7 separate regions of the Homo sapiens genome follow, and all the other regions are linked to region 7. Evidence: promoter capture Hi-C in 16 types of primary human blood cells and fetal thymus (Javierre and others, 2016). All regions are on one chromosome and are shown on one strand. Each heading gives the region's core, a stretch centred on a gene start or on the middle of the fragment in contact. The rest is flanking DNA. Distances are from core to core; before and after follow the strand shown.

Evidence for each region. Contacts are between HindIII fragments. The CHiCAGO score rates a contact against its expected background, and 5 or more counts as called.
Region 1: a contact is called between a fragment that was not itself captured here and the fragment with the promoter of CHCHD6 in region 7, in 11 of 17 cell types (total CD8 T cells, non-activated CD4 T cells, naive CD4 T cells and 8 more). The highest score is 14.1, in total CD8 T cells.
Region 2: a fragment that was not itself captured here is called in contact with the fragment with the promoter of CHCHD6 in region 7 in 2 of 17 cell types (naive CD4 T cells and non-activated CD4 T cells); the score reaches 7.4 in naive CD4 T cells.
Region 3: a fragment that was not itself captured here is called in contact with the fragment with the promoter of CHCHD6 in region 7 in 5 of 17 cell types (total B cells, naive CD8 T cells, naive CD4 T cells and 2 more); the score reaches 7.1 in total B cells.
Region 4: a contact is called between a fragment that was not itself captured here and the fragment with the promoter of CHCHD6 in region 7, in 7 of 17 cell types (endothelial precursors, M0 macrophages, M1 macrophages and 4 more). The highest score is 8.2, in endothelial precursors.
Region 5: a fragment that was not itself captured here is called in contact with the fragment with the promoter of CHCHD6 in region 7 in 2 of 17 cell types (non-activated CD4 T cells and naive CD8 T cells); the score reaches 5.6 in non-activated CD4 T cells.
Region 6: a contact is called between a fragment that was not itself captured here and the fragment with the promoter of CHCHD6 in region 7, in 16 of 17 cell types (naive CD4 T cells, total CD8 T cells, naive CD8 T cells and 13 more). The highest score is 16.7, in naive CD4 T cells.

What each region holds. Positions count from the first base shown.
Region 1 is chr3:127,575,861-127,578,742 of GRCh38, reverse strand. It overlaps TPRA1 (transmembrane protein adipocyte associated 1), which reads left to right. Exons shown (of 11, transcript NM_001136053.4): 4 at 1,667-1,753; 5 at 1,850-1,922; 6 at 2,047-2,126; 7 at 2,693-2,803. Among named protein-coding and RNA genes, the nearest start is that of MIR6825, 2.0 kb to the right of the region's middle. RefSeq lists an enhancer at 2,708-2,882. The HindIII fragment of the contact is 5,084 bases long and covers 1-2,882 here.
Region 2 is chr3:127,685,389-127,688,166 of GRCh38, reverse strand. No RefSeq gene overlaps it. Among named protein-coding and RNA genes, the nearest start is that of ABTB1, 14 kb to the right of the region's middle. RefSeq lists an enhancer at 2,435-2,564. The HindIII fragment of the contact is 5,603 bases long and covers 1-2,778 here.
Region 3 is chr3:127,657,083-127,660,189 of GRCh38, reverse strand. The region is part of intron 2 of PODXL2 (podocalyxin like 2); the gene reads right to left. Among named protein-coding and RNA genes, the nearest start is that of ABTB1, 14 kb to the left of the region's middle. The HindIII fragment of the contact is 157 bases long and covers 1,400-1,556 here.
Region 4 is chr3:127,528,437-127,531,518 of GRCh38, reverse strand. All of the region lies in intron 5 of LINC01471 (long intergenic non-protein coding RNA 1471), which reads left to right. Among named protein-coding and RNA genes, the nearest start is that of LINC02034, 7.4 kb to the left of the region's middle. The HindIII fragment of the contact is 5,147 bases long and covers 1-3,082 here.
Region 5 is chr3:127,634,088-127,637,151 of GRCh38, reverse strand. All of the region lies in intron 1 of PODXL2 (podocalyxin like 2), which reads right to left. Among named protein-coding and RNA genes, the nearest start is that of PODXL2, 6.4 kb to the right of the region's middle. The HindIII fragment of the contact is 4,056 bases long and covers 1-3,064 here.
Region 6 is chr3:127,555,148-127,557,924 of GRCh38, reverse strand. It overlaps LINC02034 (long intergenic non-protein coding RNA 2034), which reads right to left. Exons shown (of 7, transcript XR_007096067.1): 7 at 1,048-2,777. Among named protein-coding and RNA genes, the nearest start is that of LINC01471, 19 kb to the right of the region's middle. The HindIII fragment of the contact is 799 bases long and covers 991-1,789 here.
Region 7 is chr3:126,702,656-126,705,766 of GRCh38, reverse strand. It overlaps CHCHD6 (coiled-coil-helix-coiled-coil-helix domain containing 6), which reads right to left and starts at 1,527. Exons shown (of 8, transcript NM_032343.3): 1 at 1,368-1,527. The coding sequence starts at 1,454. RefSeq lists enhancers at 276-827, 1,888-1,947 and a silencer at 1,138-1,337. The HindIII fragment of the contact is 1,689 bases long and covers 460-2,148 here.

The DNA.
Region 1 (2,882 bases), core at 382-2,881, 870 kb before region 7:
GGGCTGGGGAAGCCTGGAGGTTGTAGTGGCCTGATGTCCCTCACACCTACAAGATGGTGGTAGACAGGACTGGGAACTGAGGCCTGCTTTCTTTGCTTCTCTCCCACTGCTTCTCTCACCATTTATTCATTTGTGTATTTATTCAACAGATATTAAACACCTACTGTATGCTAGGCAGATGTCCTTTTGTGGGGTAAGGGGGAGTGCAGGCAGGGAGAAAGAGCCAGGGCTAAATGTCCAGGAACATATAACAGGGCCCAGCCCATCAACTTTTGGGGACTTTGTCCTAAAGAGTTCAGGAGGCAGTGTTAAGAGTGGACTCAGGAAGTCCAGCTCTGAACCCCAGCCATGCTGCTGTGTGACCTGGGGCCAGTGGCTTGGTCTCTCTGTGCCCCAGTGCCCTTCTGCATAACAGATGTTGATCTGCTTTAGCTATGGTGTTCATGTGAGCACCTATGAAGTCGTCTGCATAGCTGCAGCCCAGTGGGAGCCTGGCATACAGTAGGCGTGTGGTAGTTTGTTGCTTTTACTGCCTGCCCTGCTGACACAATTTCTCATGGCACAAAAGACAGAGTATATATGGATCTGGGCATGTGTCAGAAGACCCAACTGAGACTCACAGAAGCCAGTTTTTGACTGAGAAACTGGGCAGTTCCTGGGCCTCAGGCACAGCAGGATTTGGGGGCACAGCAGTGCTGCTGGGGCACCATCTCCATCTCCCACTCAGCCTGGGATCTCCCCGATGGCCCTGCTCTCTCGCCATCTGCCCTTGTGGCAGCAGGGTGGTGTCCATGGTGCCAGGCTTGCATGCTGTCCGTCTGCCTTTCCCAGCAGCCCCACCTGACATCCTGGGTCTCTCTCACAAGGCTCCCTTGGGGCCTATGCCCTTCCCTGAACTAGCCCTGAGGCCAGGGGAATGGCACACACCACTGGCCAGTGCTGCGTCCCAGGCCCATCCCTGAAGCCAGGAGCGGTGGACTCAGCCTCACCTGGAACCACCGAAGTGGGGGTGAGAAGGGAGAGGAAGGGGATGGATATACCAGGCCGATAAGCACCACAGATGCTGAGCAGGCACTTTGTGAAACCTGCTGGGCTGGTGGCTTCCCTAGAGGTCTCTGCACCTCTTCTCGGTGACCTTTTGCCTGGTCCCGCATGCCTCAGAATTAAAACCATGAATACGGTAATAACAGCAAATGTATACTTGGCCCTTCCTGGGTGCCAGGCAGGCTTCTGCTGCATCTGTTAATCCATTTGACCCAACAATCAAACACAGTAGGTTTTGTTTCTGCCCCCATTTTATAGATGAGAAAGCTAAGGTACAGAGCCAGGAAGCAGCAGCGTGCTGCTTGTGATGTGAACCTGGCCCATCTGGCTCCACCATGCGCACTCCTGCTCACCAGCCCAAGGCTGTTGGTGCTAGCCAGGAAGCTGGGGCCCCGAGAGGGAGGGCCAGGCTGGAAGTCACCTGCAGTTGAGGGTCTGCAACTCTGTGAGCCTTGCTTCCTGGAGTGATCCCCACCTCCCTGTGTCCCACCCTGACTTTGCGCCTTCCTCCTTTCCGACCTCAGGAATCAAAGGCTCCTGTAGATATGGGGGTGGGCTTGCTGCCCCTGCCGATGCAGAGGCTCTTGTTCCCTGACTGCCACACCACTCCCTTGCCCACCAGGTGTTTGTGGTGGCGCTGGTGGGCATTGCCCGGGCCGTGGTATCCATGACGGTGAGCACCTCGAACGCTGCAACTGTTGCTGATAAGGTGCGGCTGGGCCCTCTGAGGGAGGCCAGGGAGGCCTGGCCTGGGGTGGGCTGGGGATGCTGGTCCAGGCTGACGCTGTGCCCACTCTGCGTGCAGATCCTGTGGGAGATCACCCGCTTCTTCCTGCTGGCCATCGAGCTGAGTGTGATCATCCTGGGCCTGGCCTTTGGTGTGTGTACCGCTGGGCTCTTGGGCCCTGGCGATGCTCTCCCCTGCCCCTCCCTGGCTGTGGGCTGACTCTGGAGTGGTCACCTGGGCTGGCTCCTGCCTGCTGACCAGCATGTTTCTTCCAGGCCACCTGGAGAGTAAGTCCAGCATCAAGCGGGTGCTGGCCATCACCACAGTGCTGTCCCTGGCCTACTCTGTCACCCAGGTAAGAGGGTGAGTGTGGGCAGGGGACGCTAGGAGTCAGGGCACCAGGCACCCACTGCTTCTGGGTCTGGGTCAGGTTTCCAGTCTTTATCACCTTCAGAGTTCTCAAAACTTTGCACCTGAGAAATCACATGGGGTGCTTGTTACCGAGGCACATTCTGGGGTCCCCTGGAGATTTGGATCCAGTGGGCCAGGGCGCCAGGATGGGAGGCTCAGGACTTGCCGTTTTAATAAGGAGTTCAGGTAGGGATGGTGCAGGTCCGCAGACCCCCCTGAGAAGCATGCATCTAGAGGCCCCTTTCTTAGATTGGGGGCAGGGACTGCACCTTGTCCATCTCTGCCCCCTTCCCCATGTGACTCAGCCCAAGACTGGGCCGGCTCTGGATGCTGCAATCAGTTGGGCAGGACATGGCCAGGGAGCAGACTGGGGCAGGTGAGTTGAGGGTCAGGCCAAGAGGCTGAACTTGGTGTGGTGGAGAGCTTAGGGGGCTTTGCATCAGGGAAAGCCCCTGGGAGAGAGAAGCCTTGAGATCCTCTCCCTTCCTCCCTTCCTGCTTGCCCCTGCAGGGGACCCTGGAGATCCTGTACCCTGATGCCCATCTCTCAGCTGAGGACTTTAATATCTATGGCCATGGGGGCCGCCAGTTCTGGCTGGTCAGCTCCTGCTTCTTCTTCCTGGTGAGGTTCAGGCTGGGGCAGCTGGGGTGGCTGGGGCCTTAGGGCCAGGTAGGGATTGGATTCCTGGGTTTCTGGCTGT
Region 2 (2,778 bases), core at 232-2,731, 980 kb before region 7:
TCCCTTGTGAGCTGCAAAAGGGCATATCCCTGCACTACACCTCTGCCTGCTTCCCAGAGGGTCCCTGGAAAGGCCTGCCTGATAGGGCAGGGAGGGAAGGAGTGGGTGAGTGAGTGAATGAATGAGTGAGTGATGGAATGATGTGTTCTCTTTATCCTCTCTCTCAGGAGGAGCCAAACCCCCATCCCATGCAGGGCAGGTGAAGGCTCAGGTGCTGAGCCCAGGTCCCCACAGAGAGCGCCTACCATAGCCCCATATTATCTCTCTGGTTTCTCTTTGAAGGAGAAAAATGTAAAAAGTGCACTGACATGAGTGAGTGAGGGACTGTGCAAGTGAGTGAATGAATGAGTGAGAAAATGAATGCATGATGGATTGAATGAGTGAGGAAATGAGTGAGTGAATGAATGAGCAAGGGAATGAATGAATAAGTGAGTGAATGAATGAGGGAATAAGTGAGTGAGGGAATGAGGGAGTGAATGAATGAGCAAGGGAATGAATGAGGAAATTAGTGAATGAATGACTGAGGAAATGAGTGAGTGAGAAGAATGAGTAAGTGAATGGGGATGAATGAATGAAGGAATAAGTGGTGAGGGAATGAGAATGGATGAATGACGAAAGGAGTGAATGAATGAGGGAAATGAATGAGGGAAGGAATTAATGAATGAAGGAATGAGTGAGAATGAGTGGGGATGAATGAAGGAATGAGTGATGAGGGAGTGAGTGAGAATGGATGAGTGTGGGTATGAATGAGTGAGATCATGAGTGAATGAGGGGATGAATGAATGAAGGAACAAGAGTGAGGGAATGAGTGAGAAAATGAATGAGTGAGGGAATGAGTGAGAGAATGGATGAATGAGGGAATGAGTGATGAGTGAATGAATGAGGGAATGAGTGAGTGAGGAAATGAGTGAATGAATGAAAGCGAATGAGGGGATGAATTGAGGGAATGAGTGGGTGAGGAAATGACTGATGAATGACTGAGAGAATGAATGAGTGAGGGAATGAATAAGTGAAGAAATAGAATAAATAAGTGAATGAGTGAGGGGATGAATAAATGAGGGAATGGGTGAGTGAGGGAATGTGTGATGAGGGAATGGATGGATGAGGAAATGAGTGAGAGAATGAAGGAATGAGTGAACGAGTGAGTGAGAGAATGGATGAGTAAGGAAATGAGTGAGAGAATGAATGAATGAACGAGTGAGAGAATGGATGAGTGAGGAAATGAGTGAATGAATGGATGAGTGAAGGGATGAATGAATGAGGGAATGAGTGGGTGAATGAATGGATGAGTGAATGAGTGGGGGATGAATAAATGAGAGAATGAGTGAGTGAATGAGGGAATGAGTGAGGGGATGAATGAATGAAGGAATGAGTGGTGAGGGAATCAGAATGGATAAGTTAGGGAATGAATGAGGAAAGGAGTGAGAAAATGAATGAATGAATGAGGGAGGGAATTAATAAATGAAGGAATGACTGAGGAAATGAGAGAATGAATGAAGGAATGAGTGATGAGGGAATGAGTGAGAATGGATGAGGGAATGAATGAGTGAGAGCATGAGTGAACAAGGGGATGAATGAATGAAGGAACAAGAATGAGGGAATGAGAGAAAATGAATGAGTGAGGGAATGAGAGACAAGTGAATGAATGAGGGATGAGTGAGTGAGGAAATGGGTGAATGAATGAAAATGAATGAGGGGATGAACTGAGGAAATGAGTGGGTGAGGAAATGAGTGATGAATGAGATAATGGATGAGTAAGGGAATGAATGAGCAAGTGAAGACATGAGAGAATAAATGGGTGAATGAGTGAGGGGATGAATAAATGAGGGAATGAGTGAGGGAATGTGTGATGAGGGAATGGATGGGTGAGGAAGTGAGTGAGAGAATGAATGAATGGGTGAATGAGTGAGAGAATGGATGAGTGAGGAAATGAGTGAAAGAATGAGTGAATGAGTGAGGCGATGAATAAATGAGGGAATGAGTGAGAGAATGAATGGATGAGTGAATGAGTGAGGGGATGAATAAATAAGTGAGAATTGAGAGAATGAATGAATGAGAATGAATGAGGGGATGAATGAATGAGGGGATGAATGAATGAGGGAATGAGTGAGCGTGGGAATGTGTGATGAGGGAATGAATGAGAGGAAATAAGAGAATGATGAGTTAGTGAATGAGTGAGAGGATGAATAAATGAGAGAATGAGTGAGAGAGAATGAATGAGGGAATGAGTGAGGGGATGAAAGAATCAGAGAATGGATGAGTCCATGAGTGAGGGGATGAATAAATGAGGAAATGAGTGAGCGAGAGAATGGTTGAGTGAGGGAGTGATGAAGGAATGAATGAGTGGCCAAGGGAGGGAGAGAGGGATGGAAAGAGGGAGGAAGGAGGCAGGAAGGCTTTATCTGAGCCAGGCACTGAGCTGGGAACTGGGTGTGGAAGCAGGGTTGGCCTCGCAGCCTGGCCACCCATGCAGAGGCCCAGACCCCACCCTAGAAGGTCCGTGCGTTTGGGTGAGTGCTCTACTGTTGCTCTCTGGAAATTCTTAATGCTCTTTGAGCAAGGTCCCCACGTGCTGTTTTGCACTGGACCCTGCAAACCACTCAGGCCCTGGGTGGGTGGCACCTGGCCTCTGTGCAGAAGGTCCCCCAAAGGTGTGCAGACCTGAAGGACAGCCCGTTCTCTCCACGTCCTCATGCTCTACTTATGGCCAACCAAATTCTGCCTGGAACTTCACTGTATCAAACCTAGAGCCAACAATGTTTGCATTTGTTGGCTTTT
Region 3 (3,107 bases), core at 229-2,728, 950 kb before region 7:
TGATGATAAAATAATACAAATTTATCACCAAAACTCAATGAACACAGGAATGTAGAAAGTTTTGTATATTGCATTCCTCCAAAAGAGCCATGAGTAGTTTGAGGTATATATTCTCCACTGTGTTTGTAATGTGCTTGCTTGTCCTCATCTGGGGATTTCACCAAGAAGATCCCACAACAACCCACTAGGAAGGGTCCCCCTACTCCTTTTCTAGTGAGTCGTTATAAGAGTCTTCTTGGTGGAGTCCCCGAAGGAGGTCTGAGAGCCCTCTCATCACTGGAGGAAGTGAGACCCCTCAATTATGACCATTGTTCCTCAACTGTGCTCTTTTTCTGTAATTTAGGCCCTGACAGGAAATGAAAAAGATGTAGGGAGAGCCAGAGAGAGGCCAGGGGCTGAGCCCAGAGTTTTCCAGGGCCTCCCAGAATGTTCAGGGTCACTGTTGGCAATGGGAGAGGGGTTTTTATTCTCCCTGCCATTCTTGGGAATTACATTTTGAAGCAGAGAAGTTAGGAGACTTCCTGGAGATCAGATTGTTTTCTGGCTTTTCAATGAACCCTAGGCCTCTTCCAAATAACTATGCATGAAAGTTATACAACAAGTTTTTTGGAAATTCATTCAAAATATCAGAAGCTGTATCTAGGAAGCAACTTTTATTGGCTGCCATTTTGTTTCAAAATAATAAATATTGTAGTTTTAAAATACTCTTTAGAAAGGAGAGTGGTGGGAACACTTTAAGATAGCGAACTAAAGGTATTCATTTACCTCCTCCTCCAAAACTTTTATCAAATGACAAAAACAATTTTAACTGTCAAAATGAAGATAAAAACATTTTAGAGAAATTTCTGGGAACATGGAAAGCAGATGAGATTATAGGAACAGATAACCCCTCAGCCAAAATAAACATAGGAAAAAATAGCAGGGGAGGAGGCAGGCTTTCTTACCCAGAGTTAGGAAGAGGCACAACTGTGGGAGCAAGGATGTAGAACACAGAAAATTCAGAGAACAGAAGGTAATTTTTAAAAGTCTAATTAGTATCCTCAGAAAGATTACAAAATATTGCATCCCTAAAATAAGACGCCACTCAGAAAATCAAGTAATCTTTAAAAAAGAAAAATTTCTTGGATATTGAAAGTCAATAGTTGATATTTAAAAATTCAACGGATTGAAAATTCAAATTTTTAATGGCTGGGAAAAAAAAAAGTCAAGGAAAAGCCTCTAGGGCAAAAGTGAGAAGACAACAGATAAGAGTTAAAAGATACAGACAACCAATGTAGGAGATCTAATACCTAGCTAATATGATTTCTGGAAAGATAGAACCAACAAAATGGAGAATAATGGAGAGAAACAAAGAAAAAAAGTTTCAGAGCTGGCAACATGAATCTTTGCAATGAAAGCTTGTATCATCAAGGTGAATGATAAAAGACTTACACCTAGCCTCATTCTCATGTGATTTTAGAATTATAAGGAGCAAGAGAAAATCTTAACAGCTCTCAGAGAAAGAACAGGTTATCTGTAAAGGAACAAGAAACAGATTACCAAATTATCATGAAGCTTCTAATTAATATCAGTAGCCTAGAGGAAGAATTTAAAAATGCACTGAAAAATCTGAGGGATGTTTATTTTGAACCTGAAATGTTATATCCAAATAAATGACTACTCAAGTGTGATTGCAAAATAAAGACATTCTCATACATGCAAAGATTTAAAAGTGTTACTATCCACAGATTCCAAGAGATTTAAGTAAGTTATTTAAGAAACCAAAAAAAAAAAAAAAAAAAAAGACATGGGAAATCAAGAAACATGAGAGGAATGCAATGAAAATATATCTCAGGATGGAAACTGTGCAGTAAGCCTGGAAAGCAATTGGTTCAAATTAGAACACACAGAGAGAGCTCTGAGAACGATTATTTCAAAAAGAAAAATTGATTCCCTGTAATAAAAAGTATGACTTAGAAGCTGAACAATCCTAGTGACAACTGAAAGCCCACTATAGTATTTAAATCAATAATTAGAATATTCTATCCAGTCCACTTCTGTTAATTAGACTTTTTGAGTAGCAGATCCTCCCCCTCTTCCACCTACTGCACACACTCTGTAGTGAAGTCACTACAGATAAATAAGAAAGAAAGAACAACCAAGATTCACAAGACATTTTAAGAAAGCCAGCCTGATGAAGAAGCATAAGGGTGGGACCATAAAGCAACTGACCTCTAGGAAAAGTTAGTCTAGTTAACAAAAGAGAATTCAGAAAAGTTTCTTGTTAATATCTTCAGAAAGATTCAGGAGGAAATCACACCCACAAAACAAGTATATAGAAGAATAAATATATTTTACCTCAATGTAAGTAAGAACTTTATAATAGCCAGATCTATCCAGAATTAAGATATAATGCATGAAAACATAACTGAAATGGGCTGGATGATTACTTGATAGGAATACTGGGTAACAGAATAGGAGTCAGATGGGTGCCTAGGAAATACAATATATGAAATCACTTACAAGCATAATATTTCATTATTGGAAGATTAATCTGACAGCAATTTACAAGATTAGGTGAAGGAGTAGATGAATGAAAGTGCAAAGAAGAGTCAGGGAGTTGCTGCAGTGATTCGGGAGAGATGCATGGCGGTGATGACACTGGAGATGATGAGAAAAGAGCAGACTCAAGAGATGACTCTGAAAGAGAAGTAATCAGATGCGTGAGCTAGATGGCCAACAGGGAGAAGCTGCGGGAGTAGCCAAGCCATTAATAGAGATGGTGAAGTTCAGAGGAAAGGAGTATTGGAAACCTTCAGGACGCACTTAAAATAGCTGATGGATTCAATGCAGCCTAGGATATGGCAGGAATATGGTGGATGGTGACACACCCATCAGCAGAATCCCATGGGGTGGGGAAGTCCTGGGAGGGCAAGCTGACTAAAACGATCTCTCTACTCAATTTGGTGCTGACTTTCCAAAAGTCAGAGAGAGCATCAACATCTCCAGAGGGCACCAACAGAACTCCCTAAACTGTGTACAGCCTCCTCAGAGATGCATCATCAGTCACGCTGTCGGCAGCATGATCTGGGACTCAGCCACTAACTTATCTGCGCACGCAGTGGTAA
Region 4 (3,082 bases), core at 146-2,645, 830 kb before region 7:
AGTCCTTCACTTTCCCTGTTCTCTCCCCCTGTATAACAATTCTTTTTAGTATTTCCTCTACATACGTTGGCAATCACATCATTCAGTGTTATAACTTTTGCTTCAATTGTCAAGCATAATTTAGAAAACTCAAGAGATGAGGTCTATTGTCTCTATCTATATTTTGTTGACTGTGTTCTTCCTTCCTTACACTTTGAGATTCCTTCTTTTCTCATTTTATTTGTTTGGCAAACTTCCTTTAATCACTCCTTTTGGGTAGGTCTGCTGGTGACAAAGTCTCTGTTTTTTTTTTCTTCTGAAGATGTCTTGATTTCCTCTTGATTTCTGAAGGATATTTTCACTGGATGTAAGATTCTGGGCTGAGAGTTCTTTTCTTTCAGCTCTTGAAAATTGCTGTGCCACTTCCTTTTGGTCTCCATGGTTTCAGTGAGAAATCTGCTGTCATTAAAATGGTTTTCCCTTACAGGTAAGATGCTGTTTCTTTTTTCTCTCTCTCTGTCGCCCAGGCTGGAGTGCAGTGGCACAATCTCGGCTCACTGCAACTTCTGCTTCCTGGGTTCAAGCGATTCTCCTGCTTCAGCCTCCCGAGTAGCTGGGACTACAGGCGCGTGGCACCATGCCCGGCTAATTTTTTGTATTTTTAGTAGAGATGGGGTTTCACCGTGTTAGCCAGGATGGTCTCGATCTCCTGACCTCGTGATCTGCCCGCCTCATCCTCCCAAAGTGTTGGGATTACAGGCGTGAGCCACCGCACCCAGCCTGTTTCTGTTTTTTTTTTTTTTTTTTGAGGTAGAGTCTCTCTCTGTCTCCCAGGCTGGAGTGCAGTGGTGCGATCTTGGCTCACTGCAACCTCTGCCTGTCAGATTCAAATGATTCTCTTGCCTCAGCCTCCCTAGTAGCTGGGATTATAGGCATGCGCCATCACACCTGGCTAATTTTTGTATTTTTAATAGAGACGGGGTTTTGCCATGTTGGCCAGGCTGGTCTTGAACGCCTGACCTTAAGTGATCTGCCCTCCTCGGCCTCCCGAAGTGCTGGGATTACAGGCGTTAGCCATGGCGCCTGGCCAAGATGTTTTTTTCTTGCCACTTTCAAGATTTTTGTCTTTGTCTTCAGTTTTCCGAAGTCTCAATAGAAGGTGTCTTGGCATAGGTTTGCTTTGATTGATGCCATTTGGGGTTTGCTCAGGTTCTTGAATCTGTAAATTTATGTCTTTTGCCAAATTTAGGAAATTTCTAAACATTATTTCCTTGAAAATCTTTTCAGCTCCACCCTCATCTTTCTTCCTTTCTGGGTCTCTCACGACATGGATGCTAGGCCTTTTGTAATAGAGAGACCAAAATATAGACCAAAATGTATATAGGCCAAAATATACATACCCGAGATTCTGCTCATTTTTATCTAAGTCTATTTTTTGCTTTGTTGTTCAAATTAAGTAATTTCTATTATTTTATCTTTAGGTTCACTGACTCTTCCCTCCAGCCTCTCTGTTCTGGCGTTGAGCCATCCACTGAGTTAATTTTGGCTGTTGCGTTTTCAACCCTGAGTTCCCATTTTGTTCCTCTTTGTGGCTTGTTTCTCTGCAGAGATTTTCTATTTTCTCACTTGATTCTGTTGTGTTTGCCGTTGAGCATTTTTGTGATGGTGGCTTCAAATTGTTCAGATGATGCTGCTGTTGGTGTCATCCTGGGTTAGTCTCTGCATCTCTTCTCATCAGGGTCGGTGTTTTCCTGGATCCTGGTGTGGAGTGATTTGTGATTGAAGCCTGGATATTAGGGGTTATGTGGTGGGGCTCCTGGCCTTATTTAAACCTCTGTCTCAGCAGCCTCCTTTGAGGCCCGGCTGTGGTGGACTTCCTTGCCCCCAGCTGGGCTTCTCCAATACCTTCCCAAGGAGGGGTGGCATCTCAGTCAGTACATCTGGGTGAGGGTGGAGGTCTAGGCTCCCTCCTCAGTCTCTGCTGGCCAGGGTGGTGTGGGGCCTCGTCTTTTCCTGTGTGGTCTGATGGCGTAGGTCAGTTATCTTCTAAAGTTTTCCAGAATGCCCCTTGCCTGGCTAGAGGGAGCAGGTTTTTTTGGGGGATTGTTTTCTGAGCCTGTTGGTATTTCTAGGTTGCTGACTCTTTAGCACCCAGTTTGGCAAACACGAAGCAAAAAGATGGAACTCACCACCATGCTGTTGCCAGGTCCTGAGGCTCCCAGCTTGTGCTTCTCTGCACATGTTAGGGCCTCCTTGTATTCATTCTACACAGAATACCCATGACTTTTAGCTGTATTTGGTGGGGGGAAATAAGAAAAAGTACCTTGACTTCTTCCATCTTTCTGGTTGCAGCAGTTCCAGTGGGTAAAGCCCTTTGAAATTGCACACATACACCATCCTCTACGCCAGCCTCCTTCAAGATTCTGAGCTGTGCACTGCTGTTATTCATACTGTTTGTCTGCTCTAATTGTCCAATTCTTGTGAAAAGTCTAAACATGACCTTGGGTGATACCCTGGGGTGCATAGAGCAGAAAGCCAAGCTATAATGAGAGGTTCCTTGGATCTCAGAGGGTGGGCAGGGTCTGGAGGCAGGGCAGCTGGGATGGGGCTGGGCTGAGGTTTGGAGAGGCCTGGGTCCAGGCCAGACGAAAGCCAGTCCTTGGATCCACAAACACCCACAGCCAATCCATGCTAATTCTACGCATTCATGAGTTGTCCTCTAAAACTCTTCTTCCCAATTTCCTCCAAAACCCTCCATGTCATCTAGGCCAGGGTCTACTCTATGCCCCTTTGCTGTGCTCATGGAAACTTTTTTTTCTTAACTTCAAAGACAAGTGAGCTCATGGAAACCTCTCCATCGTTGACCAGGATCTATAGGAAAACCCTCCTCTTCTTCTATATGCAAAGGCTGCACAGCTCCTGGTTCACCTGCACCTCTCCAGACCACCATGGTGCCTGCAGCTCTGAGGGCATTTTAAATCATCACAGAACAACAAGCATATAAGCATCATGAGCGCCTCTGGACCTCTGACGTGCCTTGTGGAGGCCTGCCAGGCCCACGTTTTAATTTACATGAACTCGATGCCCTTTTTGACAGGGAGAG
Region 5 (3,064 bases), core at 43-2,542, 930 kb before region 7:
AGAAAGTATCATCATAACTAGAGGATGGGGCTGGGTGTGGTGGCTCACACCTGTAAATCCCAGCACTTTGGGAGGCCGAGGCGGGCGGATCACTTGAGGTCAAGAGGTCGAGACAGGCCTGGCCAATGTGGCAAAACTAGTCTCTCCTAAAACACAAAAACTAGCTGGGCATGGTGGCACACGCATGTAGTCTCCAGCTACTTGGTAGGCTAAGGCAGGAGAATTGCTTGAACCCGGGAGGCAGAGATTGCAGTGAACCAAGATGGTGCCATTGCACTCCAGCCTGGGCGACAGAGTGAGACTCTGTCTCAAAAAAATAAAAATAAAAAAATACCTAAAGGGTGGGCAAGCTGTGACCCTGGGCAGGTGGGAGCCAATGGCACTGCTGTGTTGCCAGTGCTCCTGAGGACTGCTCACAGGGGATTGCCTTCTGCCAAGTCCAAACCAGGAAGCTATCACACCCCATCCGGAATGTCTTCTGCTGTCCTAGGCACCATGTCCACGGACAAAGATTCTGCTTCCAGGCAGGGCCTGGCTCCACGAAGCTGAAGTCATGTTCCCAGAGCCTGTGTCTGAATCCCTGACTCAAAGAGAGAAACAGCCATCTCATATTTTGTGGTTTCTTTGAGCCAAAGGTATTTAAAAGGCAGAGAAAGCCAAGACAATCAATTTGGGGTCCACTCCCCTTGAAGTTCCCCTTTGTTCCTGGGAGAGGATGAATTAAGGACTTGTACTCTCTCTAGCTCAAGACTTTCCCATGACCTCTTCCACTCTAATTCCCCTTCACATCACGGGGGGACCCTAAGCTACTCTTGGATTTTTTCCTAGCCCGAATATTATAGAAGAAAGCAGTATCTATCCCCTACTAGGTAGATGGGAAAGAAACAGAGTGCCCTGTCCTACCCCAAAACAGTACCTTCTTAAGGTTCTTCCTGAGAGGGGTTATCCAATGACTCCCAATTAATAACACACATCTTTGCAATGAGACTTTGTAGCTCCTCCCATCAAGAGATGAAATCTAATTCTCCACTCCTTGAATCTGAGCTACCTTTGTGAGTTGCTACACAAGACAATGCAGAAGTGATGATGTGCCATTTCCAAGGCTAGGCATCAAGATACCTTGCACGCTTCCATTCTCTCAGGATTCTGCTCAAGGCTAGCCTGCAGGAAAACAGGAGCCCATGCAGAAGAGAGCCAGATCAGCTCAGTGTCCTAGCTGAAGTCCCAAAGTGAGAGAGCCAGACAAGACCAGCAAAGGTGATAAACAGCTGATGACAAACTTGAAGGAGTTCAGCTGAGACCAGAACCACCCAGCTGACTGCAGCCTAAATTGCCAAACTACAGAATCATGAGCTAAATAAATGGCTACCGTTTTAATCCAGTGCTTTCAAACTTGAACCAGCATGGAATCACCATGAGGGCTTGTTAAAACAGAGACTGTTAAGCCCACCCTAGAGTTCTGAATCCAGCTGGTCTGTGACGGGGCCCAACAATTTGCATTTCTAGCAAGTTCCCAGGTGATGCTTCTGTCCAGGGATCAGATCTTAAGAACTGAGAATCTGAAACCACTAAATTTTGGGGTGATTTATTACACAGAAATAGCCAAATGATACATTAAGACAAATTATAAATCAAGTTCTCCTTTTGGATCAGAGTAGTGTTTGAATGGTTAAATTCCATTCATTCATCCATCCATTCATTCATTCTTCAACCAAAAAGCCTTTATTAAATGCTTATTTGGACTAGGCATGATCCAAGGCTATGTTGGTACAGAAATAAGAAAGATAGGGTCCCTGCCCCAAAAGGGTCAGTTTCTACTACAGAGACCAGCAAGAAAACAAATCATTATGGAATAGTGTAACAGTGACCATATAACTCTGTTTGAGCCACAGGGTTAGTAGGGCAGGGAGAGAGATCTCAAAGGTAGCTACTAACAGAACTGCTCATGGCACTGTACTAACTGTGCTCAGTACACTGTGAAGGAGAAAGGAGGCTGGAGGAAATAACAACACCGGGATCTCAGGAACATGTGTTCAGTTTCCCTTTCTCTAGGGTAGACAACCATGCCACTCAGGGGGGCACATGGCCGAAATGCCCCACACTTCACGATAAAGCAAAACAGCAGAGACGATACAGAAACATAGATGTGTAGACATGAGAGACGCCTCCATTAGAATTACAGTCCTCATAGTGCTTCACCGCTGGAAGAAAAAGAGAGCTCTTTTACGAACCCCTAGCAATTCCCCCTGCACTCATCTGTCCCGAACACTGCCCTCTAATCAGCGCTTCTCAGACTGAAATGTGTGTGAGTCACCCGAGTCTTCTGACACAGTAGGTGTGACTGATGCTGCTGGTCTGTGGACCACACTTTGAGTGACAAAGCTCAGAGAGGTCTTTTTATTTATTTTTTATTTTTATTTATTTTTTCAGACAGTTTCACTCTTGTCGCCCAGGCTGGAGTGCAATGGCGCGTTCTTGGCTCACTGCAACCTCCGCCTCTCAGGTTCAAGCGATTCTCCTGCCTCAGCCTCCCGAGTAGCTGGGATTACAGGCACCTGCCACCACGCCCAGCTAATTTTTTTTTTATTTTTAGTAGAGATAGAGTTTAACCATGTTGGCCAGGCTAGTCTCCAATTCCTGACCTCAGGTGATCTGCCTGCCTCAACCTCCCAAAGTGCCGGGATTACAGGTGTGAGTCACTGTGCCCAGTCAACTTTTTTTTTTTTGAGATGGAGTTTCTCTCTTGTTGCCCAGGCTGGAGTGCAATGGCGTGATCTCAGCTCACTGCAACCTTCGCCTCCCGAGTTCAAGCGATTCTCCTGCCTCAGCCTCCCGAGTAGCAGGGATTACAGGCATGTGCCACCATGACCGGCTAATTTTGTATTTTTAGTAGAGACGGGGTGTCGCCATGTTGGCCAGGCTGGTCTCAAACTCCTGACGTCAGGTGATCTGCCCACCTTGGCCTCCGAGAGTGCTGGGATTACAGGCGTGAGCCACTGCACAGGCCGAGAGGTCTTTTTAAAATGCAAATCTGGTTCTATCATTCTATCATACAGGTCAGATC
Region 6 (2,777 bases), core at 141-2,640, 850 kb before region 7:
ATTCTCTTGTCTCAGCCTCCCGAATAACTGGAATTACAGGCATGTGCCACCATGCCTGGCTAATTTTTCTACTGTAGTAGAGATGGGGTTTCACCATGTTGGCCAGGCTGGTCTCGAACTCCTGACCTCAAGTGATCCACCCGCCTTGGCCTCTCAAAGTGCTTGGATTACAGGCATGAGCCACTGTGCCTGGCCCTTACTTGCCAGTTTTAGTATCCTTTGATTCTTGCCTGAAACAATTGTTCCCCAAGTGGCGGCCAAATAATGACTTTCAGATCACATACTCCACCCCTTCCACATTTACCAGTTAGCTTCCACTGTTAGGAAGAGCATTCTCTTCTCCCCATGCATTCATTTATTTTAAAATTTATTTACATTTATTTTTATTTATCATTCAGAGGAAAACAGGGACATTTTTGAGAGTGGAAGGGGCAATAGGTACATATTCAGGGATGATAGGTATAAACCAGGACTGTCCCCAGAAAACTGGGAGGTGCGTTGACCTGTGACACCCCTCACCCCCACTCCAGCCGGCTTCTGGGTAAGGAAAGCGGCTCTGCTACCACTCCAAAGGGGATGCCTGCCTGCCCAGTTCCAGGAGCCAGGCCTTGGAAATTCTCCTGACACCCCCTACTCTCTCATCCCCATATCCATTCTGTCACCAAGTCCTGTGCATTTTACTTCCAAAATGTAGCTTCGATCTACCTGTTCCTTCCCACCTCCACCAGCCTGGTCCACGCTGCCATTCCCTCTCCTCTAGGCCAACACTGTCATTTCTATTCTGCCCCATCCTATTCCATTTGCACACTCAGTCACAGAGACCTTTGAAACACACAGATCTATTCGGTGGCTCAGCCCCCTCCCTCGGCTCCCCTCTGGCATGGCCCCCATGTGCTCCTCCCCTCCCTCCCCATCTACGCCCCAGCACCCCAGGCCCTGGAGCCCTCAAACTCCCAGGTTTCCAACCCTAACCTGCCAGCCATTGAAGCTTACAGATTCTTTGTAGTTATACATTTTTATAGTTACAAAATCATTTTTTCACAACCATTCAAAAACGTGCAACAGTTGAAATTTTATTGGAAGGTAACTTTGGCACCACTGTCACCTTTCAGATTCAGTCACAGCAGCTGTGCCCAGTCGACATCCCACCTGCCACCAGAGGGCTCTCTGTAGTGCCACAGGTGGTCCTCATCCACTACTGCCTGCCCGGCCGCTTCTCATCAGTGGTGACTGTCAGGAACCCAAAGGACTGACCCCTGAAAAACATTCCTGATCCCGGACTGTGCTTAGTCAGCTCAAGCATGAAACCTGGTACATTGGTATAAAAAAATTTATGCTTGTAAGGCTGGTTGCGGTGGCTCACACCTGTAATCCCAGCACTTTGGGAGGCCAAGGCAGGCAGATCAGGGTGGGTCCCGGTTAGGTTGGAAGTTTGAGACCAGCCTGGCCAATATGGTGAAACTCCGCCTCTACTAAAAATACAAAGGTTATCCAGGCATGGTGTTGTGCGCCTTTAATCCCAGTTATTCAAAAGGCTGAGGCACGAGAATCACTTGAACCCGGGAGGCGGAGGTTGCAGTAAGCCGAGATCACACCACTGCACTCCAGCCTGGGTGATAGAACGAGACTCTGTATCAAAATAAAAAAAAAGAAAAAAAAAAGTTATGCTTGTAGAAGCCAACTCAAGATTAATTTACATATTTAAAAATATTTTCCTTGGAAATTTAATACACATCCAATATCGATTATCTTCTTTAAGTACTTTGTATCTTATTCTTCCTGTCAAGCTTTGCACTATAAAGGTGATGTCATGCTTTTCTGCCATGCCTCATGCAGGTGGCACCTCCTTCCTCACCCCCACGTCTTTTCCAGGTGAGCCGCGATGCGCAAAAGGTTGGGATGCCTGGCACAGGATGCCAGCTAGTCGATGTCTTTAGAATGCCCCTGCTGTCTCTCCCGGGGCTAAATCCTATTCCACCGTGAGCCTTCCTTGACCAGCAGAGAATAGAAGCGCCTGGTACATACAGGCCACCAAAGGTATCTGTTGAACAGACATGCACACGGCTTCTGCCGTGGGCCAGGAGGGCCCACTCAGGAGCCTGGGTACTTTCCCTCCATAGGCCATGTATTCCTGTGAACAGATGAATAGGGCAGATGCTGCTTTTATCCCTATTTTACAGGTGATAAAGCTGAGGCTCAGAGGGGCTTAGAGACTTGGCTAAGCTCAACAAGCTGCTGGGAAGTAGTAGAGCTGTGATTCAAATCCAGGCATTCTGGCTCCAGGACCATGCCCTTAGCTGCTGTCTCTTCATGCGCCAACCTTTGTGATGCTGTATTTGTTTGTAGTATATGACTATTGTGACCTCTGTGGGGGCACTTAGCACAAGGCCTGGTCCTTGGTAGGTGCTCAATACATATTGTTTAAATGAATGAATGAAAGCAATTATTGTTCCTTTAGATGATCAAAATTTCCACTCCACCCTAAGTTCCCCTTTCATGGAATGAAGGGATACGAGGCTAGGGAAAGTCAGCTTGGGACACTGATGGATTCTCAGAGGGCAGAGCTTGGCCTTCTTGGCCTGCCAGTGGGCAGAGAGACCCTCCCTACCCGAGGGGGCCAGGGAAGGCTTTGCTATGGCAGCGACATTGAGATAGGGTTTTGAAGGATGAGTGGGAGTTCACTGAATCTCAGAAGTGCAGCCTGATGGAATCTGGGGTTGGAAGCAGCACATGTAGTGAAGGGTCAGTCTCATCTTCAAACGACCTCCCCATCATTT
Region 7 (3,111 bases), core at 278-2,777:
CCTGCCAGAACTCCTGAAGTCTGTCTTTCTAAGCCACCTCCCTAATTCCTCCTTAATTAACTAATTCATCTACACCCAGCTCTGTGCGTTTCATTTAATCCTAGTCCCTTTTACTGGGTTCATTCATCTCTCCACAGTTACTTACAAAGCACCTGCAGGTGTAGACACAGGTGGAGGAAGAGGCCGAGCACAGCAACATGCCCTGGAATTGGCTTGTTTCAATCCCAGCTCTCCCACTTACTATTTACATGATCTTGGATCAGTTCGTTCACCTCTCAGTGCCTCACTTCTCCTTAATCTACAATAATGGGCTAAATAGGGCTGTTGAAAATTAAATCAGTTAACTTATAAAGGGTTTAGTCCAACGCATGGCCCCTACACTGCAATAAGAGCTGCTTTTATTCTTCTGGGTTCTGGGGACAGTCTTCAATCAGACAGGAACCTTAGCCTCAAAAAGCTTACACTCTAGCAGTAAACGCAATAAACAAGTAAACAATTATCAACAGAAGCGATCACTGTGATGAGTGCTATGAAAATAATAAATGTTGGACGCGGGGTGGGAGGTTACTTCAGATTGGGTGGTCAGGGAAGGATTCTCTGGTGATATCTGAATTACAACAAGAATTACAAGAAACAGCGGGATTTAAGGAGAGCTGAAGGAGAGAGAACAGCCGGCGCACAGACCCTGAGCTGAGCCAGCGGCACCCTCCAGGAAAACACGGCGGTCCTGAGGCTGGGGACGAGGTGCGGGTGCCACGCGAGGGAAATGGCACGAGATGCAGTCCCAGAGGGATGCAGTCCCCAGAGGTCGACGGGCAGCGGCCAGCTTTGGAACCAGGGAAGGCATCATCCAAGCGCGCTAGGAACCCACTGGAGGGTTTCAGGCAAGGAAGGGGATCAGATCTGAGCTATGGTTCTTCCTGCGCCCCGCAGATGTGCTGTGGAGAACAGGCCGGCGGGGAAGAGCTGAGTCCCCAGGCAAAGCCCAGGTGGGAGACACCGCGTACCCAGAACGAGATGCGCGCACCTGAGGGGCCACGGGCTGGGAGGCCGGGCGCAAATTCAAGAAACGTAAAAACTAAGCCGACCGGAGCCAGGACGTGGCCAGGGCGTCCCTCGTGTCCCAGGGGCCTCGCACCTGTACAGTTCTTCACTCCTCCTTCCCTGAAGCCCATGTCGCGAAGCTCCAAGGCTGCCAGCCTCGGGCTCGCGTCTCGGCTCAGCCTCTTCCTGGCCTGAGCCCCCGGAGTCTCCCAAGCCCCACGCCCCTCACGCGTGGAAAGAGCCCCGGCCCTGCGCTCCGCCCCGCACCTCCCCCCCGCGCCCGCGGCCTCCACGCCCGCCCCGGCCCAGGCGGCGCCGCTCACCCGGACACCCTGCAGCACCCGGACCCGCTCCTCCTCGTCCACTCCGAAGGACACCCTGCGGCCCTCGCTGCTCTCCGTGCTCCCCATGGCGAGATGCCGCAGGGCCGGCAGCCACCAGACCCGAGACCCGGCTCCAGAGCAACCGGGCCAACAACGCTTTCCAGGACTCGCGCGGCCGCGGCACACGCCAACAAAGCCACGTCCTATTGGCCGACGCCAGAGGCTTCACCAATCGGGTGGCGCTGAGTCGCGGTGCCTTGTGGGGATTGCAGTCCTTCCGTCTGGAGGGGTGGGGGCGTGGCGGTCTGTGCCTGCTAGAGTGCGTTAGGCTGAGGCCGAAGATGTGTACCGGCGGAGGCCCTGGAGTGGAGGGCTGGGTGCAGGACAGGGTCACGTTCTCGCTTTGGGAGCTCCCCCTTGAGGGAGAGCCAAGGGTGATGTTCTGAGGCCAGGAGACGCCGAGACGGCCAAGGCGCTCATCTGGAGGCGAATTTCTGAGGGTTCACTGCTCCATTCATTCAGCAAACACGTGTAGAGCAGCACGGGCTGAGCGCCAGACGAGCAGGGACCTGGCCCTGGCATTACAGCGCCCCTCAAGACAGCGAGTGTCCTGCCCTTGAGAGGTTTACAGTGCAAGGGGAAAACAAGTGAAAAGCCAAACACGCACGCAAGGAAACTGACTGTAATACACGGAAAACTGCATGGCGATGCCACTAGTAAAATGAACAGAAGGAGGCCTCTTTTAATTTCAGTGGCCAGAGCAACCTCTGAGGAAGAAGCTTTGAACTGAGCCGGCGGGAGAGTAGGATTTATGTAGAAAAAGGTAGGGGAAGAGGTTTCCTGGGAGTCTCAGGCAGGAAAAGAGAAAGAGGGGTCATCCCATGGCTGGAAAGTGAGAAGAGGGCAGAGGAGTGGTGAGGACCCAAATCATGTCGGGTCTTGTGAGGCAGGGTCTGAGTGTGGGTTTTATTCTAAACGCCCCGGGAGGACAGGGAATGGTCCTAAGCCGTTAGGAGGCATTGCCCAAGGAGTGTACATACCATGTGTGGAGTGCAGTGTGCCAGGCATTGTGTGTAGGCTTCTTACACAGGACCCTATGTGTAAGGGAGCACACAGACGGTTGCCAGTCATAGACACTGCTACCTTCAAATAAGCCCCTTTTTGTTCCTCTGAGTTGCTGAATGGCTTTGATTTGCAAAAGTGCGCCTGAAGCCGAGCTGAGGAAAACTAGATGGCTACATGAAATAGCCAGAAAATATTTGGAGCTCCTATTGGCAACCTGGAAAGAAAGGGGTGAGGAGGAGAGAATGATTGAGAGAGAGCAGTAAGGCTCTGAGATTGAGAATAGCTCAGGGTGAAGAAGCTAGTAAACATCCCAGAGCTGGTGTGACGATGGAATCTTTAGGAACAAAGGTGTCTGCTAGTTTCATTCAAAATACTTCATTGGCGCACCCCACTCCATCACCTCTGTCGTCCATTTCTTCCCTATAAGCAGAGCCTGCGTAGGGGATTCTGGTGCAAGGAGTTTCCTGGGGGAGCACCTCAGGAGAAAGGAAGTTAGGGAGACAGGCTAAGAGGGGTGGGGACCGGGGGCCGCGGGGAAAACTGAGTAAAGATGTGGTCAGACCTGGTCCTGGGCTTTCCTTTGTCTCTTTTCCTTGGAGGTTTATGATTACTAATTCAATCTCCTTACTCGTTATTGGTCTGTTCAGATTTTCTGTTTCTTCAAGACTCAGTTTGGATA